2 separate regions of the Homo sapiens genome follow, and region 1 is linked to region 2. Evidence: promoter capture Hi-C in human tissues and cell types (Jung and others, 2019). All regions are on one chromosome and are shown on one strand. Each heading gives the region's core, a stretch centred on a gene start or on the middle of the fragment in contact. The rest is flanking DNA. Distances are from core to core; before and after follow the strand shown. Region 1 overlaps KBTBD11 (kelch repeat and BTB domain containing 11). Region 2 holds the start of ARHGEF10 (Rho guanine nucleotide exchange factor 10).

What was found. The method cuts DNA at HindIII sites, captures the fragments that hold promoters and counts their contacts. A contact is called where the count stands out against the background at its distance.
Region 1: a fragment that was not itself captured here is called in contact with the fragment with the promoter of ARHGEF10 in region 2 in 2 of the 25 tissues and cell types used here (IMR-90 fibroblasts and neural progenitor cells).

What each region holds. Positions count from the first base shown.
Region 1 is chr8:1,975,258-1,977,957 of GRCh38, reverse strand. The region is part of intron 1 of KBTBD11 (kelch repeat and BTB domain containing 11); the gene reads right to left. KBTBD11-OT1 (KBTBD11 overlapping transcript 1) reads right to left here. Exons shown (of 3, transcript NR_126346.1): 3 at 1,514-2,059. Among named protein-coding and RNA genes, the nearest start is that of KBTBD11, 2.9 kb to the right of the region's middle. The HindIII fragment of the contact is 5,247 bases long and covers 1-2,700 here.
Region 2 is chr8:1,822,608-1,825,307 of GRCh38, reverse strand. It overlaps ARHGEF10 (Rho guanine nucleotide exchange factor 10), which reads right to left and starts at 1,382. Exons shown (of 29, transcript NM_014629.4): 1 at 1,195-1,382. The HindIII fragment of the contact is 19,596 bases long and covers 1-2,700 here.

The DNA of each region.
Region 1 (2,700 bases), core at 154-2,653, 150 kb before region 2:
ACCACCATGATATTGGAACAAGGGTCGTGATACGAATATTCAGAACTGTGAACTGCATCTTGCAGGAATGGGAAGCTATGAAAGGCCCACTATTGTAAGAATTTTAAAAAATAATTGCTCTGAGCTGGGAGTGGTGGTTCATGCCTGTAATCCCAGCACTTTGGGAGGCCAAGGCAGGAAGATCACTTGAGGCCAGGAGTTCGAGACCAGCCTGGCTAACATGCTGAGACCCCATCTCTACTAAAACTACAAAAAAAAATAAATAAATAAGTTGGGTGTGCTGGAGGGCGCCTGTAATCCCAGCTACTCGAGAGACTGAGACATGAGAATTGCTTGAACCCTGGAGGCGGAGGTTGCCGTGAGCTGACATGGTGCCACTGGATTCCAGCCTGGATGACAGAGCCAGACTCCATCTCAAAATATAATAATAATAATAAAAATCATTGTTCTGACTACTGCAGGAGGACCTGTTCAAAGAGAGGATGTGCAGAGCCTCTCCAGAGACTACTGCAGGAGTCCAAGCATGAGATGGAGGTGGCCAGGACAAAGATGGTACACTTCATAGAACCACACCCATATGTATGTCCCCACGACTCTACACCTTTCTAATAAAACAGTAACAATACCAGCTAACATCGGCACCGTGGTTTTTCATTTACAAAACATTCTATGTGCATCTTCCTATTTAATGATTTCACTTTAGGACTCGGGAAGTCTCCATGCTACAAAATTAATCCATATGAAACTCAGTCAAGCTCTAAAGCAGGGGTCTCCAATCTTTTGGCTTCCGTGGGCCACACTGGAAGAATTGTCTTGGGTCACACATAAAATAGACTAACACTAATGATAGATGATGAGCTTAAAAAAAAAAAAAACTCATAATGTTTTAAGAAAGTTTACAAATCTGTGTTGGGCCTCATTCAAAGCTGTCCTGGGCCACATGTGGCTCGTGGCCCATGGGTTGGAGGACCTTGCTCTAAAGTGTGAAGCTCCATCAATTTAACTCAGCCATAAAATCGGCTGACATTACACTTTTACTACACCCTGCTCCAGCGCCCCTCACTGACCTCTCCGTGCTCTAGTCCTCACCACAGGGCCTTTGCACACAATGTTCCCGCAAACTGTCCCCTCCTGGGCTCCTGAGCCACCCCTCTCATCCCTTAGTTCTCGGCCTAACATTCCTCTGTTACGTGCATTCAAGGGAATGTATTCCTCTCCTTCAACGCACTCATCTCCGTGTGTTATTACCTAAGAATTAACGTAATTATATGCTGAATGCCTTTCACTGTATTAACGTCTCAGCTGCAGATAGCAGAGAACTAGGCTGACTTTACTTACAACTGTATTCCCAGCACCTAGGACTGAGCCTGACCCACAGCAGGGTGGGGGGTGGGGGAGCAGGGGAACTCCACAAATATTCAGAAGAGAAGGAAATTCATGCTAATCCTTCAAACAAAATGCACATAAGACATGCAACGGTTTCTATTTCCAAGACAACATTTATTTCAAAATCATTTCTAGCAGGAACCTGGCTGTTGGCAAAAAGTAAACTAGATGCTTTAATTTATTCTTAAAGTTTTTGCTCATTGTTAAATACTTTGCAAACATGTGCTGGATACCAACACTATACTTTTAGCTTAATTACAATGATTTCAAGAGGAAAAAAAAAACAAACTCAAGACCACAATTGACACGATGAGCCCTTGACCTCCGGAGAAGGGCAGATATCGCCCTGAGTCACCAAGGGAACACATGCTGAATGACAGGCTGATTTGTGATCAGGAAACCCGCTGTTCTCCGGGCCCTTCTCAAGCCCACTCAGACACCAGTCCTCCTTGATCACAGCCTTGGATGCAAGGAGGCTTAGAGGCACTGCAGCTGCCTAAGTGATTCCAGATTTGCAGGAGAGCTATTATTACTGAGCAATCTGTGCTCTTGGTATTTAGAAAACAACTGAAACATGTGCCCAGATGGAGGCGTCCACAGCACGGAGAGTCTCTCTGTATCAGCACAGGGACAAAGACGGGACCTGCTGGGCTCCCACTGCCAAGGTTGCTACCTGTACCGGAACATATGGAAACCCCATTGAAGCGGGTTTGTATTGGAGTTTACAAATGATGCGATAAGCTCCAAACCACCTTTCCGGATTCTTCCATCCACCCAGAGCAAGGTGCTCTGAGGTTCAAGTTAGGCCCAGACATCAGTCAACACAGAGTCCTGCTCCCTGGGAATTTCTTTAGTCTCAGAGCCACAACATTTAAGCTTTCTCCCCTCCTCCCAAGCCCAATGCTGGCTTAAATACAGTCACGAATGGTTCAGATGCAGACAGGTTCTGAGAAATGATAGTTAGATAACTTCATCACTGTGCAAACATCACACAGGGCACCTACACACCTAGGCGGTGCAGCCTGCTACACACCTGTGCTCCACTGCACAGACTCCTGCTCCAGACTGCACACCTGTGCAGCGTGCACAATACCGCAGGCAATTGTAACACAATGGTGTTTGTGTATCTACACATTTCTAAGCATGAAAAAGACACAGGGAAAACAGTTTTATAATCTTACAGGACCACCGTCAACTTGGCGGTCTGTAATTGATCCGAACGTGGCTGTGCTACACATCACTATAATGTAAGCAACATCTTTTAACTGATTTTATTATGTGCTGTCCAATGCTATGGCCAGCAATGCCTGTGCA
Region 2 (2,700 bases), core at 133-2,632:
GGGGTACGGGGAGACAGGTGGGGTGCGGGGGGACAGGTGGGGTGCAGGTGAACAGGTGGGGTGCGGGGGACAGGTGGGGTGCGGGGGGACAGGTGGGGTGCGGGGGGACAGGTGGGGTGCGGGGGGACAGGTGGAGTGCGGGGGGACAGGTGGGGTGCGGGGGGACAGGTGGGGTGCGGGGGGACAGGTGAGGTGCAGGGGGGACAGGTGGGGTGCGGGGGGACAGGTGGAGTGCGGGGGGACAGGTGGAGTGCGGGTGAACAGGTGGGGTGTGGGGGGACAGCTGGGGTGCAGAGTAAACAGGTGGGGTGTGGGGAGGACAGGTGGGGTGCGAGGGGACAGGTGGGGTGCGGGGAACTGGTGGAGTGCAGAGTTAACATGGGGTGCTGAGGGACAGGCGGGGTACACGGGGTGCGGGGAACTGGTGGGGTGTGGGGGGACAGCTGGGGTGCAGAGTAAACAGGTGGGGTGTGGGGAAGACAGGTGGGGTGCAGGGGGAACAGGTGGGGTGCGAGGGGACAGGTGGGGTGCAGAATAAACAGGTAGGGTGCGGGGGGACAGGCGGGGTGCGGGGGAATAGGTGGGGTGTGGGGGGGACAGCTGCGGCGCGGGGGACAGCTGGGGTGCAGGGTAAACAGGTGGGGTGCGGGGGGACAGCTGGGGTGCGGGGAACTGGTGGAGTGCAGAGTGAACAGGGGGTGCTGAGGGACAGGCGGGGTACACGGGGTGCGGGGAACTGGTGGGGTAGGGGGACAGGTAGGGTGCGGGGGAAAGACGCCGGCTTTCCTTACACCGGTCCTTCTCTGCATCCTGAGGCGGACCGCATTCTTCTCCTTTACCGGAAAATCTAAGTTACTGCACGACCCCCCAGGCGAAGCCAGCTCGCCCCTCGGGCTCCTTCCGCCGATCGGAGTTCGCTCCTGCCCCTGGGGCCAGGGGTCCCTGCTGCCAGTCCCTGCTCCCCCCGCCCAGGCCCGCGCCGTTATCCTGAGGGGCCGGGGGCGCCGCGGAAGGGGGAGCTGCTCGGGGGGAGGGGGTCTCAGCCCCTTCCCTGAAACATCTGCGCAGGGGGTCGGGGGCGCAGCCACCTCCGGGTGGGACCCAGCGATTTCGGGGGAGCCGGGCAGAAGTGCAACTCTCAAAGGAAACCAGAAGCCCGCGAGGGGACCCACGGTCCGCGGGGCCCGCACTCACCTCGGCGGCCAGGACGCGACCCGCAGTCCCCTGCTGTTCCCCGCCGTCCCCCGCTGTTCCCCGCCGTCCCCCGCTGTTCCCCGCCGTCCCCCGCCGTTCCCCGCCGTCCCCCGCGTCCCCCGCGTCCCCCGCGACCCCGTCCGTCCCGGATCGCGCGCCCGCCGGCTACAGGGATGCGCCCAGCCCCTCCCGCCCGGACGGCCTGCTCCACCCACCATGCTGTCATTGGCGGGCCCAGACCGTTCCGGGCGCCCATTGGCCGCAGAGCCTGCCGGTTTCTCGGCAGCGCCCTGCCCTCGCGCCCGCGCATTCCTTCGAGGCCACGTGGCCGCCCGCGCCCCCTCCCGCTGCCCAACGCCCGGCCCAGGCTGCGCACGCGTGGGAGGGGGCGCGCGGCAGAGGCTCCCGCCCCCGGATCATCTCCTGCCCCGCGGACCCCGGGCCGCGCTCACTTCGGGAGGGGTCGCTGGGCAGACCGAGTGCCCTCCCCGCCCCCAACATCTGGATCCTCCCCGCAGAGCCTGCTCCCGGCTCAGAGCTGCGCCCCTTGGGGAGGGTGCGCCGGGCAGACCCTAACCCTCTCCCAGAGCACCGCCCTTTCTGCGGACCCCCACGGGCTGAGCTCACCTGAGGGAGGGGGCGTCGGGCAGACGCTCCCCCCCCCAGAACATCGCCCCTCCCTGCGGACACCCGGGGTGCGCCCAGCCGAGGAGGGGGCGTCGGGACCCCACCCGACCCGCCCTTGAGCCCCCGTCCCTCCGTCCGCAGCTGGCCCTGCCCACAGGGCGTTCCGGGTCTTCCGCGCCAGCTGCCCTGGACCAGCCAAGGCTTGGGCGTTTGGAAATGCGATGACTTCAGCCACGTTTCCGAGGCAGTTTTTGAAGCTTGCTTCTTGCCAGGAAGCGCTCGTTTTTCCCGGGACCTTTCCAGGGAATGGCCCCTTCTGAGTTATTGGAATTGTTTACTTTGAGCATTTATTTGTCTTATACTTTTAAAAAGGAAACAGATTATCGTTATAATTACTATTAAAGAAAAAAAAAAACGAGAAACAAAGACATTTTTAACCAAAATAACTAAAGGATGTTATCTTTTACCTGGTCAGCACATTTAACAAGTGTGTTCGCAGATGCTAGATTTATTTCTATGCCTTCTCCTACCCAAATCTCCGAATCATAGAAGTAATTTTAAGTCAGTGTTTTAGAACTGTCAGACTTCTTAGAGATTTCTAGCCCCTTTCACTTGTTTTATAGAAGAAATACAAACAGCTATTTGGGATGCTAAGTATCACGAAATTAATCTAAACATTAACTGCCCTTAAGGCTTGTGTGCTCTGGAATAAGTTATTTCCCTGAAAATTTTGGACTATGTAAAAATCATAGCCAACATAGAAAGACTACAATGGCTGGAAAAAATAATCGTAGGTAAGGTGATATTTTTTCAATGTTTATTATTCACACTTGCTAATTTTATGAAATCAGACTGAGTTGTTTTTATGAATCAATTGAA